Linked DNA regions of Homo sapiens: regions 2 and 3 are each linked to region 1. The links are contacts of gene promoters, found by promoter capture Hi-C in blood cells and fetal thymus (Javierre and others, 2016). All regions are on one chromosome and are shown on one strand. The core of a region is centred on a gene start or on the middle of the fragment in contact, and the rest is flanking DNA. Distances in the headings are between cores, read along the strand shown.

The links. The method cuts DNA at HindIII sites, captures the fragments that hold promoters and counts their contacts. A CHiCAGO score of 5 or more calls a contact.
Region 2: a fragment that was not itself captured here is called in contact with the fragment with the promoter of ERCC6L in region 1 in 1 of 17 cell types (neutrophils); the score reaches 5.7 in neutrophils.
Region 3: a fragment that was not itself captured here is called in contact with the fragment with the promoter of ERCC6L in region 1 in 1 of 17 cell types (neutrophils); the score reaches 6.0 in neutrophils.

The regions. Positions count from the first base shown.
Region 1 is chrX:72,237,077-72,241,894 of GRCh38, reverse strand. ERCC6L (ERCC excision repair 6 like, spindle assembly checkpoint helicase) reads left to right here and starts at 2,868. Exons shown (of 2, transcript NM_017669.4): 1 at 2,868-3,051. The coding sequence starts at 2,984. It also overlaps a transcript of PIN4 not described here. RefSeq lists an enhancer at 2,937-3,086. The HindIII fragment of the contact is 5,695 bases long and covers 1,421-4,818 here.
Region 2 is chrX:72,010,153-72,014,970 of GRCh38, reverse strand. All of the region lies in intron 1 of NHSL2 (NHS like 2), which reads right to left. Among named protein-coding and RNA genes, the nearest start is that of NHSL2, 100 kb to the right of the region's middle. The HindIII fragment of the contact is 1,307 bases long and covers 1,600-2,906 here.
Region 3 is chrX:72,028,250-72,033,067 of GRCh38, reverse strand. The region is part of intron 1 of NHSL2 (NHS like 2); the gene reads right to left. Among named protein-coding and RNA genes, the nearest start is that of RTL5, 100 kb to the left of the region's middle. The HindIII fragment of the contact is 2,483 bases long and covers 1,529-4,011 here.

The DNA of each region.
Region 1 (4,818 bases), core at 1,619-4,118:
GACTCTCAACTCATCCTTAGCTCCTTTGTGCTGCTATAATAAAATGCCATAGACTCAAACTCATATTTTTTTTTTTTGAGACGGAGTTTCGCTCTTGTTGCCCAGGCTGGAGTGCCAATGGCGTGATCTTGGCTCACCACAACCTCCGCCTCCCAGGTTCAAGTGATTCTCCTGCCTCAGCCTCCCAAGTAGCTGGGATTACAGGCATGTGCCACCATGCCCGGCTAATTTTGCATTTTTAGTAGAGACAGGGTTTCTCCGTCAGGCTGGTCTCGAACTCCCGACCTCAGATGATCTGCCCGCCTCAGCCTCCCAAAGGGCGGGATTACAGGCGTGAGCCTCCTCACCTGGCCATCAAACTCATAATTTATAAACAATAGAAATGTATTTATTATGGTTCTGGAGGCTGAAGAGTCCAAGATGAAGGTGCCAGCAGGATTGGTATCTGGTGAGGGCTGCTCTCTGCTTCCAAGATGGTGCCTTGTTGCTGCATCCTCTGGAGGGGAAGGAATAGTGTGTCCTTACATGGTAGGAAAGCAGAAGAGCAAAAAGGGCCTAAACTAGCTCCCTCCAGCCCTTTCATAAGGCACTAATTTATTCATGAAGTAGGATCCCTCATGACATTACTTGCTAAAAGGCCCCGCCTCTCAATGCCACCATGGTGGGGATTAAGTTTCAACACAAGAATTTTGAAGGACATTCAGACCATAGCACAGCCCAATCCAAGCTTGCCTCCAGGAAAAGATGTGATTCAAACACTTTAGCAGAGTAAACAAGTTCCTTCATAACCTGGCCTTCAACTGCCTCATCAACCTCATTTCCCGCCACTGCCCTCTTCTTTCCAGTGTGACACAGCGAAACGGCACAGATTTGTGTCCATATGGACCTAGTATTGAATTCTGGCTCTGCTGCTTCCTAGCTCAGGAAGCTTAGATGAAGTCAATTTATCTCTCTGAGCCTGTTTCCACATCTGAAAAATGTGGATAATAGTATACTAAAAGGCCTCTTAATAAAGGCCTTAAAGTCATACAAACCAGGAAAATAGCCCATGTTCTCCAAGATCCCCCACCTCCCCCCAACCCTTTTCTTTTTTTTGAGATGGAGTCTTGCTCTGTCGCCCAGGCTGGAGTGCAATGGCACGATCTCAGCTCACTGCAACGTCTGCCTCCTGGGTTCAAGCGATTCTTCCACCCCAGCCTCCCGAGAAGCTGGGATTACAGGCACCCGCCACCATGCCCAGCTAATTTTTGTAGAGACGGGGGTTTCACCATTTGGCCAGGCTGGTCTTGAACTCCTGACCTCAGGTGATCCGCCCGCCTCGGCCTCCCAAAGTGCTGGGATTACAGGTTCAGTGAGCCACTGAACCCGGCCTCCAACATTCCTTTTAACTCATAACGGTCTATAAATTTTATGAAAAGCTTAAAATTCTCTGGACATATGATGTATGACTGGGCCAATAGGTGAGTTTTCCAATACTGAATGCTAAATTAGTGTCTTGAGGAGTCATGTCTGTGTTCTTAACAGTATATGAACAAGGACAATTTTTGTTGGCCCACAACCTCCTATTTAGTGTCACCCAAGCAAGCCACTTAAACTCAATCACATTTCCTTAAGCTCTAGGCTCTGCCTTCTTTTTAGGCTCTGCATTTGAAAATGACTGTATCTTAGTTGGTGCTTCTGAAGAAATGATGACCACAGCACTACTTCTTTTTTTTTAAATTATTTTTGTCTTCCTTTTATTATACCAAGTATGTGAACCTAGTTACTTATTTCTTAAATAAGAACTTTAATTTTTTTTTTTTTTTTGAGATGGAGTCTTTCTCTGTCACCCAGGCTGGAGTGCAGTGGCATGATCTTGGCTCACTGCAGCCTCCACCTCCAGGGTTTGAGATTCTTGAAGACCCTTCTCTCTTTCTCTCTCTCTTTTTAAGAAAATAAATACAGCATAACGCCCTGTGGAGAAGAAAAAAATTTTTTTTAAAGAGACGGGAGTCTCACCATGTTGCCCAGGCTGGTCTCGAACTCCTAAGTGCAAGTGATCCTCCCACCTTAGCCTCCCAAAAGGCTAGGATAACAGGCGTGAGGCACTGCACCCAGCCTTTTTTTTTTTTTTTTTTTTTTTTGAGATGGAGTCTCGCTTTGCCACCCAGGCTGGAGTGCAGTGGTGCAATCCCGGCTCACTGCAACCTCCACCTCCTGGGTCCAAGCGATTCTCGTGCCTCAGCCACCCGAGTAGCTGGGACTGCGGGCGCCCGCCACCACGCCCGGCTAATTTTTTGTATTTTTAGTAGAGACGGGGTGTCACCATTTTAGCCAGGTTGGTCTCGAACTCCTGACCTCACGTGATCCGCCCGCCCCGGTCTCCCAAAGTGCTGGGATTACAGGCGTGAACCACCGCGTCTGGTCGCTTCTTCAATGTTAGTTTAAATCACAGGGACTATGCCTCCCAGGGTGTTTGAATTCAAAGCACGGTCAGTGCCAGGTACTGGCGATCAAGGAAGGGAAGATATCTGTGGATGCGGGGCAGGGTATGGTTGGGGGACGCAGGCGTTGGAGATCTCCAGGGGTCGCCGCAATGACTGGGATCATATCGGGCAGTCTCCTCCACTCACAATGATGGCACACGCACGCGCGAACGAATTGGCTGCAGCATGGTTTGAATTGGATTGAAACGCGAGGGATCACAGACTGAGGCAGCACACTCCGTGTCTCGAAGGCAGAGATCACCTTCTGCTTCCCGGCGCGCGTAGGCGCAGGCGCCCACCGTCATGGGCGGGGCTCAGGCGGAGGCGTCGCAGCGCGTGGTCGCGGATTGGCCGGCCGCGAGGCCGTCGGTTGGCTGTGTCCCTCTCCACGGCGCACAGAGCATGCGCGGGGCGGGAGTGAGCGAAATTCAAGCTCCAAACTCTAAGCTCCAAGCTCCAAGCTCCAAGCTCCAAGCTCCAAACTCCCGCCGGGGTAACTGGAACCCAATCCGAGGGTCATGGAGGCATCCCGAAGGTTTCCGGAAGCCGAGGCCTTGAGCCCAGAGCAGGCTGCTCATTACCTAAGGTATGTCTGGACCGCTGGGCGGGTCTAGCTAACCGACCTGGCCCAGGGTGGAGGTGGGGTGGCCCCCGGATCCTCCTGGGGACCCGAACTGTTGAGGCGGAGCCTTTTGAGACGCGCGCTCGCGCTCTTCTCGCAGTAGGGTGTGGGAGTCAGCTCTGGATGTTTGACCAGATTTCTAAAACCTGAGGAGACCCCGATGCCTCTTCTTTTGGGCAAATGACCCTCCAGTATGGTCTCCTTAAAAGCCAGAGGAGCCTTAATTAATCAAGCCCTTCTTGATTCTTTTCAGCTTATCAAGCCCTAAGTCTAGGGGATACAGAGATGAGTAAAACAAGGTCCCCGCCCCCAAATTGTTTGTAATCTAGTAGTGGAAACGGATCTGTAAAGCAATAATTACTAGGTTTGATAAGTGCTGTAAGAGGTATAATGTACGTGCAGGGCACAGTGTTGGCATAAAAGAGGGAATGGCCAACTACAAGGGTGGTCAGCTAAGGGATGGCGTGGCAAGAGGAGACATTTGAGCTAGGCGTTGAAAAATGAGTAAACATTCACCAGTTGGCTAAGGGTGGGGGGCGTGGTAATGTTGGGATGAGAATTTAAATTTTTTCTTAAATTGTGGTAAAGTACACATAACATAAATTTTATCTTTTTGTGCAGAAACTGGGTTTTATGAAAAATAAAGTTTATCATCCTAACCATTTTTAAATGTACAGTTCAGTAGTGTTGACTACATTCATATTGTTGTGCAGCCGTCCGTCATCTCCAGAACTTTTCTCATGTGGCAAAACTGAAACTACTCCCATTAAACAAACTCCCCATTTCCCCCTCCCTTCAGCCCCTAGCAACCATTATTCTGTCTCTGTGAATTTTACTGCTTTAATTTTTTTTGAGACAGGGTCTTGCTGTGTCGCCCAGACTGGAATTCAGTGGCCTGATCATAGTTCACTGCAGCCTCGAACTCCTGGGCTCAAGCAGTCCTCCTGCCCCAGCCTCCCTAGTAGCTGGGACTTAAGGTGGGTGCCACCATGTCCAGCCAATTTATTATTTTACTATTGTTGTTTTATATATATTTTTAGAGACAGGGTCTGGCTCTGTCACCCAGGCTGGAGTGCAGTGGCGCGATCTCTAACTCAGCTCACTGCAACTTCCATCCCCCGGGGCTCATGCGATCCTCCCACCTGTTTCCGGAGTAGCTGGGACCACAGGCGCACACCACCACACCCAGCTATTTTTTTTTTTTCTTTTTTTGATACAGTCTCGCTCTGTCACCCAGGCTGGAGTGCAGTGGCGCGGTCTGGGCTCACAGCAAGCTCCGCCTTCCGGGTTCACGCCATTCTCCTGCCTCAGCCTCCCGAGTAGCTGGGACTACAGGCGCCCGCTAACACACCCGGCTAATTTTTTGTATTTTTGGTAGAGACGGGGTTTCACCGTGTTAGCCGGGATGGTCTCAATCTCCTGACCTCGTGATCCGCCCGCCTCGGCCTCCCAAAGTATTTTTTTTGTGTTTTTAGTAGAGACAGGGTCTCGCCATGTTGCCCAGGCTGGTCTCAAACTCCTGAGTTCAAGCAATCCTCCTGCCTCGGCCTCCCAAAGTGTTGAGATTACAGACGTGGGCCACCATGCCAGGCCTTTCATTTAGATTTTTCCAATTGTTTGCCATTATACTTTTGTTGTAATAGGCAGCCTTTGTGTGAATTTTTGTGCACTTCGTAACTGAGTGTACACTTTGGAATTCCGATTGCTGGGTCTTAGGGAATGTGTATTTAA
Region 2 (4,818 bases), core at 1,004-3,503, 230 kb after region 1:
ACCAGCAAAGGAGGGGTTGAAAACATAGCTTTTCACCCTTGCTAAGCTATAACCAGGTGCCCCAAATTTCCCCACTGGGGTGAAGTCAGAGAAGGCTGAGCAGGCATCTGGGATAGACCTACTAGATAGAAAATCAGCAAGGGTATATAGGAACTCAACAACACCCTCAAACAACAGGATTTGATTTGACATTTATAGAACATCTCATCCAACAGCAGAAGAGTACACATCCTTTTCAAGTGCCCATGGAATACAAAACATGTTAGACATATCCTGTGTCATAAAACAAATGTCAACAAATTTAAAATAATTGAAATCAAATGAAATGTATTCTGTGACCAAATTGGAAATCAATAACAGAAAGATAAGAAAATATCTAAAACTTGAAAAATAAACAACACACTTTAAAATAACCCATGGGTCAAATATGAAAATTTAAATTTCAAGATAAATTTTAAAAATACATTGAACTGAATCAAAATGAAAATACAACATAGAAAAATTTATGAGATGCAACTAAAGCAATGCTTAAAAAGAAGTTTATAGCTCCAAATGCTTATACTATAAAAGAAAAAAGGTCTCAAATCAATCATCTAAGTTCCTACCTCAAGTAACTAGAACAAGGAGAGCAAAATAAAGCCAAAGCAAACAGAAGGAAGAAAATAATAAAAATAACAGCATAAATAAGCAGAATTGAAAATAGAAAAATAGAGAAAATCAATGAAATAAAGAGCTGCTTCTTTGAAAAGATCAGTAAGATTGACAAACCTCTAGCAAGACATACAAATTGCTCATATCAGGAAGGAAATGAATATCACTACAGAGCCTTCAGACATCAAATGGGTAATAAGGGAATACTATGAACAATGCTACATGCTTTGACAACTTTGATGAAACAGACCAATTTCTTGAAAAATATAAACTTCCCAAATCTACCAAATATGAAATAGATGATTTGAATAGCCCTATAACTATTAAAAACATGAAATTCATAATTTTAAAACTACTCCCTTTAAAATCTCCAGGTCCAGATGGTTTCACTGGAGAATTCTACCAAATGTTTAAAGAATTGTATGCTAATTCTACACAATCAGTGTAACAAACTAATAGAAATCACATGATCATATTAATCAATGCAGAAAAAGCATTTGATAAAATCTAACACTTATTATAAGTTAAAAAAAACTCTGAGAAATAGGGCAAAAAGGGAACTTCCTTAACTTGAGCATCTACATACAACTTACACCAAATATATATATATTTTTTTCTGGATCAAGCAATATTAGACTTATACCTAACATTAAACACAATGCTTGAAAGACTAAATGCTTTCCCCCTCAGATTGGAAACAAGGCAAGGATCTCTGCTCTCACCACCTTAATTCAACATAGTGTTGGAAGTTCTAACCAGTGTAATAAGGCAAAAAAAAAAAAAGAAGAAAAAAGAAAAGATAAAACATGTAGATTATAAAAGAATAAATAAAACTGCTCCTATTTGGAGACGGCATTATAGTCTACATAGAAAATCCCAAGGAATCTACAAGACAATTCCTAGAACTAATAAGTGAGCTTAGCAAGGTTGCAGGATACAAGATAAGCTTGCAAAAATAAATTGTATTTCTATATACTAGCAATGAACACATGGATGCTGAAATTAAAAATACAGTGCCATTTACACTTGCTCAAGAACAAAATACTTAAGTGTAAATGTAACAAGATATGTATAGCGCTTATATGCTGAAAACTACAAAATGCTGATGACAGAAATCAAAGAAGACCTAAATAGAGAAAGAAATATGCCACATTCATGGATCAGAAGACTTAACATAGTAAAGATGTTAGTTCTCCCCAAATTTATGTATAGTTTTAGCTCAATCTCTATCAAAATTCCAGGAGGATATTTTAAACATAGACAAGTTTATTCCAAAATTTATATGGAAAGGCAAAGAAACTAGAATAGCCAAAACAATTTTGAAAAGGGAGAATAAAGTGGGAGGAATCACTCTATCCAATTTCAGGACTTATTATGTAGCTACAATAATCAAGACTATGTAGTATTGGTGGAGGGACAGACACACAGATCAATGAAACAGAGTAGAGAACCTAGAAATAGACCCACACAAATATGCCCCACTGATTTTCAACAAAGGTACAAAAGCAATTCAATGGAAGAAAGATAGCCTTTTTGAATGGTGCTGGAGCAACTGGACATAGACCAAAAAATGAACTTTGACCTGTGTAGTGGGCTGAATGGTGCCCTCCCAAAAGATACGTCTACGTCCTGATTCCCGGAGCCTAGGGATGTTACCTTATTTGGAAGATGAGCTTTTGCAAGTATAATTAAGATGAGGAGATCATTCTGGATTCAAGTGAGTCCTAAATCTAATGACACGTATCCTTATAAGACGGACACACAGAGGAGATGATGATGTGAAGATGGAGGTAGAGATTGCAGTGACATGGCCATAAGCCAAGGAGTATTGGCAGCCCGCAGAAGCGGGACTAGACAAGGAAGGATCCTCTCCTAGAGCCTCCAGAGGGAGTGCAACCCTGCCCACACCTTAAGCTCAGACTTCTGGCCTCCACAATCATGAGAGAATACATTCTGTTGTTTAAAGCTACCAAGTTTACAGTTACTTGTTACGGCAGCCTCAGGAAATGATATAATCTATCTCACACCTTATACAAAAAAAAAATCAACAAAATGGATCAGAAACTTAAATGTAAAATTATAAAATTTTTAGGAAGAAACAGGAAAGTGTTTGGAATCTAAAGCTAGCCATATAAGCCAGACCTTATACTTGAAAACCAAAACACATCCAAAAAAACAAAATTGATAAATTGGACTTCATCAAAATTAGCAAGTTTTGTTCTATGGAGTCCTTGTTAAGAGGATGAGAAAAAGCTTCAGACCAAGAGAAAATGTTTGCAAACCATATGTCTGACAAAGGACTGGTATCTAAAATGTATAAAGAACTGTCAAAACTCGACAGTTAAAAATTCAAACAACTCAACCAGAAAATGGGCTAAAGACATAAATAGACAAGTCACTGAAGAAGATATACAGATGGCAAAGAAGCTCATGAAACAATGTTCAACATCACTAATCTTAGGGGAATGAGAATTGAAACCAGAATGAGATATTACTTCACACCTAGAGAAGAACGGCTAAAAGGGAAAACAGTGAGAACACCAAATGATGATGAGGATGCCAAGAAACTGGAATCCTCATACATTGCTGGTGGGAATGTAAAATGGTACAGCCGCTCTGGAAAACAGTTTGCCAGTTTTGTTTTTTTTTTGAGATGGAGTCTCGCTCTGTCATCCAGGCTGGAGTGCAGTGGCAAGATCTCAGCTCACTGCAACCTCCACCTCCCAGGTTGAAGCAATTCTCCTGCCTCAGCCTCCCAAGTAGCTGGGACTACAGGTGCGCACCACCACGCCTGGCTAATCTTTGTATTTTTAGTAGAGATGGGGTTTCACCGTGTTGGCCACGATGGTCTTGATCTCCTGACCTCGTGATCCGCCCACCTTGGCCTCCCAAAGTGCTGGGATTACAGGTGTGAGCCACCGCACCTGGCCGTCAGTTTTTTGTTTTTTGTTTTTTAAACTAAACATGCAATTACCATATGACTCAGCAATTGTACTCTTGGGCATTTATCCCAGAGAAATGAAAACTTATTTCCACATAAAAACCTGTTACGTGAAGGTTTATAGCAGCATTATTTATAAGAGCCCAAAACTGGGAATAACCCACATGCCCTTCAGTGGGTGAATGGATAAACGGTCTTTGATACATCCATGCCATGGAAGACTACTCGGCAATAAAAAGGAGCAGATTATTGGAAAAGGGGTAGGGGCAGACTATTGATACACGCAACAACCTGGATGGATCTCCAGAAAATTATGCTGACTGAAAACAAAATCCCTAAAGTTTGCATACTGTGTGATTCTATTTTACTACATAACCTGGTTGAAACAACTGTATTTTAGAAATGGAGAATAGATGAGTGGTCGCTAGGGGTTAAGTAGGAGGTTAGGGTGGGAGGGAAATAGGCGTGGCTATGATAGGATGACTTGAAGTATCCTTGTGGTGATGGAAATATTCTGTATCTTGACTGTATAAAGGCAACACCCTGCTTGTATATTGTACTATAGTTTTGCAAGAAGTGATTATTGAGGAAAACTGGGTGAAGGGTACATGGGACCTCTCTGTATTATTTCTTATACTGCATGTGAATCCATAATTTAATCACAATTAAAAGTTTAATTAAGAAAACAAGAATGAACTAGATCCATATGTCTCCTAAAACAGAAAGGTTTCCAAGACATATTCCTAAGTGAAAAAAAGCAGATTAGTATATATGGTGTGACACCATTTATTTTTAAGTACCCACATAAAACCAAACTGTGTATGCACAGAAAGAGATTTGGAAGAAAGTGGGCACTCTCCACTGATAACAGTGGTTACCTTCGGGGAGCAGAGTGGGACCGGAGAGATAGAGATTTGAATTGTAGCTGAATTGATTTTTTTTCACAACAAGAATATTATTCCTATGTTATTTGTATAATAAAAACATCAGCCTGGACACAACTACATTGTTCTAGAAATGCATATCTGTTTTGCTTATCCTGATTTCACCTATCCCTGTGTCACCAACACTGTGGTCATAGGACCCAGTTCACAGGTCCCCTGCCCGTGAGCCTCAAGGAAGTGGCTACTGAGCCTCCTAATTTGGAAATAGGCCCACTAGCAATCAAGGCTACCTTTGAGGTATGGAAGAACCACCTGGAAGAACCAGTGCCCCTATGACTATGA
Region 3 (4,818 bases), core at 1,521-4,020, 210 kb after region 1:
AGGCCCTAAAACAGCTAAAACAATCTTGAAAAAGGAGAATAATTGGAGGAATTACTCAGTGCTAAAGCCTACTATAGAGCTACACTCATCAACACTGTGTGGTATTGGTGGAGAGATAGATAAACAGATAAATGGAACATAACAGATAATCCAGAAATAGACCCACAAAATATGCCCAACTGATTGATTAATTTTATTATTTATTTTTAAGAGCAGAGTCTTGCTCTGTCGCCCAGGCTGGAGTGCAGTGGTGTGATCTCAGCTCACTGCAACGTCTGACACCACGGCTCATGCAATTCTCCTGCCTCAGCCTCCCGAGGAGCTGGGACTACAGGTGAGCACCACCACGCCAGGATAATTTTTGTATTTTTAGTAGAGATGAGGTTTCACCATGTTGGCCAGGCTGGTCTCGAACTCCTGACCTCAAGTGATCTGCCCACCTTTGTCTCTCAAAGTGCTGGGATTACAGGTGTGAGCCACCATGCCCGGCCTACATAACATTCTTGAAATTAAAAAAGTCATATAGATGAAGAATAGGTTCTTGCTTACCAGGGGTTAGCTGATGAGGGGAGTGGGTAGTAGATGGGTACAAATACCAAGAGGTAGCATGAGGAAGATCTTTGTGGTGATGCAACAGTTCTGCATCTCCTTTTTATTATTATTATTACCATTTTGAGACTGAGTCTCGCTCTTTCGCCCAGGCTGGAGTGCAGTGGCATGATCTCAGCTCACTGCAACCTCCGCCTCCCGGGTTCAAGCAATTCTCCCTGCCTTAGCCTCCCGAATAGCTGGGATTACAGGTCCCTGCCACAACGCCCAGCTAATTTTTATATTTTTTTGTAGAGATGGGGTTTCGCCATGTTGTCCAAGCTGGTCTTGAACTCCTGACCTCAGGTGATCCGCCCAACTTGGCCTCCCAAAGTGTTGGGATTACAGGCATGAACCACCGCGCCTGGCTTATTTTTTTTTTTTTTTTTTACTTCAGTGGCCAGTTACTAGAAGTTCTGCATCCCAATTGTGATGGTTATACAAATCTATACATGTGATAAAATTGTTTGAAATGATATACACACTCATATACAGAGTACATGACATGTAAAACGTGAAACCTGAATACGCTCTGCGGATTGTACCAACATCACTTTCCCAGTTGTGTAAGATGTCAACATTGTAAAACTGAGTAAAGGGTCACCAGATCCACCTTGTAAATTTTTTTGCAACTTCCCTTGAGTCTAAAATTGCAAAATAAAAAGCTTTTAAAAAGGGTTAATGTGTTCACTTGATATATTTATTTCCTAACATGTCAGAACTGGTTTTTTTTTTTTTTTTTTCCAAGCGAGGTCTTAAGCCAGTGTGTTGGAAAGGAGCGAGAAAGCAGGAAAGGGGCAAACCAGCATTTGCTGAGAACCAGCTCTGGGCCAGACAATTCACATACATGATCTAATTTAATTCTCATGACAACACTGACAAGGTTGGCACTTTAATCCCATCTCACAGATGAAAATGAGTCCTAGAGAGGTTCAAAGCTTGTCCAAGCTAGTTGTTAATAATTCTTAATTGAAGCTAATAATTCCTAATTAAAGCTAATAATTAGTAAGTGCTTATGTGTGCTAAGTGCTACACATGAAATAGCTCATTTAATACTCACAATAGCTGTGTAAGGTAGGTACTACAATTACTCTCATTCTATAGATATGGGACCTGAGGCTCAGAGAGGTTAAGTGACCTGCCCAAGATCACACAGCATGGAAGAGGTGGAACCAGGATCCAAAACAGGTGTGTAGGAGTCTGATGCTCTTTTCCTCGGCCCCAAGACACCTCCCAAAGCAAAGTGGAATAAGAGATGTATTTCTGATTCAAAGGCAGAAATGAGCCCTCCTTGGTGCCCTCAATTAAGCCCCATGCAGTCTCCTACACAGACCCTAGAACTCTTTATTGCACATATACCTTCACACGTCCGCCTCTCCTTCCGAGTGTTAAATTATGTAAGCTCCTTGAGGGATAGAACCATGGTTTACTCATGTTCGTGACCTTAGAGCTTGCCACAAGGTAGGGACACAACCGATGTCTGCTGCATAAAAGAAGCTGGAGATCACTTTAAATCCTATGAACGATTCTCTCCTCACTAAGGGGGCTGGAACTGGGAGTATTTGGGAGCCCACTCCTACCTGCATTGGGTAGTTGGGTGGACTTGGCTCTCTTTAATCCTTTGTTACAACTGGTGATGTGCTGGAGCCAGTCTGCTTGGCTCACCAGAGCCAATTGTTAAATTTTCATAATTTTGTGAGCCAGTTGTTAAACTGTTGGTAGCTCGAAATTAGCCATAGCAGGAATATTTATACCACAAAATTGGCAAAAGCTACAAAGCAGGGCACCCCATTACACACACCAGAACTGGTTGTTAAACATTTACCAGCATGCCACTGATCACAAACATTTGATTGCAGCACTTGGTGCGTGTAAATACCAAATGGAAGGGGCAAAAGTAAGCCTTCTGGGGTGCTGCGAATGTTCTATATTTTGATCTGGGTGGTGGTTACACACAGATGTATACACACACACACACACACATATACATATACAACTTCATTGAAATGTACATTTACAGTGTGCTTTATGCAATTTACTGTATATATGCTTTCCTCAGTAAAAAAGAACTCCCAGACTGTGCACAAAGCTGTGATTGATTCTGAGTGCCCCCTGCGGAGACCCCACTTATCAGAATGCACAGATGAACCCCAGTGGTATTGATCAGTGTCACCAATAACACAGCCCAGTCCAGTGCATTTTTTATTGCACAGGACGGGGCAAAGGTGAGCCAAACAGCTGCTGGCAGCAGGAATCCAGTTCCCTTCATGTCTTTTCTTCGTCATAGCTACTGTCATCTCTCACCTCTGTTATTCCTGGCTCTGTGGCTAGGGTCAGTGCTGTTTGCTGACAGGCAGCATGACTCATTATTCGGCAGATCATTTTTCTGATTAAGTGGGGAGATGGATGGATATTTTCCCATACTTGGGCAGAAACCTCATTCCCTTGGATTCCTTTCCTGAAATTACTCAGCTTTACATTTAAGGGGTGGTTTTCTCCACTTTTTTTTTCTTTAATAGTACACATAACGTTTAGCTCTCCTCAAACAATCAGACTTGCAGAGAAAATGGAGAGGAAAACAAAGTGATTCCCAAAAATGCACCCTTACAAGGGAGAGGGAACAATCTTTCAAGGGCTTCTTTCATGAAGTCACCCTAGATGGGAAGGCCCAGCTGCTGGCAAGCATTCAACTTTCCTGACATAAGCCCCTGACATTTTCTCCGCCTCCCCTCCACCAGCCACCCTTCTGCACCACTTGCTTGGAGTAGCTGCTTTGTTCTGCAAAGGAATGACAGGAGCTCTGAGGGCTTGCAGCCAGAGCCCAGCAATCCAAGAAGTGGGCAGAGCATGTGCGAGGGCAGTAGGCCTACCTGCAGGAGTGGGCAGTTGAGCTTGGAGGTATCCCTTCCTGAGGAGGCAGGAGCAGCCACAGTGGGATTGGAAGGGTGGACAAGGATAAGTTAGCAAAGTGCTACTGTCATAGCCTCAGGACATCATGGCCTATTCCCTATCCCTTTTCCAGGCTCACAAATAACCCTTTAGATAAGCCCAGTTCAGTCGCAAACACCCAGTGCAGTGGTAGCTGGGCTATGAGGATTTGTTTTTAAGTAGGGTGGTGGCAGCCCCGAGCAGGCCAATTCAGCCCTCTCAGCTGAAGTCATGAAGCTCACCCATTGGCTCCACCACTCCCATTTCTGCTTGAGCAGGGTGAGAGCAGAGTACACAGGCGCTGGCATTGGTCTCACTGCCCTTCCTCTGTATGCATTAGGTCCTTGTGTGAGCTGCCAGTTATGACTCCAGTCCTGAACCCCAACCCTACTTGGACAGGGTTAGACTCTGCCTTGCTTTTGCCGGGCCTTTTCTCCTGGGGGATACTTCCTATATCATACACACATACATGCTTGTCTATGCCATGCCTAAGCTTTCCACACCCAAAGGACCACCCAAGAGCCAGTATTCCCAACCCTATCCCTTCCCCAACAGCCAGGTGGCTGAGATCCCAGCATGCCTCCTGCCCAAGTTATGACAACTTACTTAAATCACAAAGACCAAAGTCCTTAGATGTTCTTGGCAAATCCAAACAACGCTTGGTCCACATATGATGCTGAGGACCCAACCAGGGGCCCAGCTCTACCGACAATGTCCAAAGAAGGCCTGGGCCACCCCTTCTGTCAGGGAGGGGTTAGGCTGAACTTGTGGATCCCTGTTGTTTCCTGACCTTCAAAATCCTTCCCAGTGGCTGAGGTAATGTTTGGGACCCAGGCCCAAATCTCTTTCAAGAGAGAGTGTTGTCAAATGAGATGTACCCACTCTAGTGCCAACAATGTCAGCACCTATCATGACCTTATCATGTCACCTCAGTACACTAGAAGCTAGTGCCCCTTCCTCTCTCAAATCAGCTGAGGGGTGAGGGAAAGGGAGGAGTAGAGATCTGGGGAAGGAGGCCAGGCGGAAGGACCTGCTGCCATATTGGATTGCTGGTTCCCTGACACCAGTGACGGGCACCAATAGGCATTTAACTGATGCTTGCTGATTAAATACACAAATAAATGAATGAATTATTCCTAAAATAATAGGGGAAAACATCCTTGAGCTCACAGAAATCTCGAGCTCTCCTTGAATCTCTATCACAAACCCAGTTTGCCTTCTCTACCTCTTCCTTTGTGCTTCCCCCTTTCAGCTGAGTAGCATTAAGTCATTTTCCCTGAAGTGTAAACTGAAGTCCTTAAA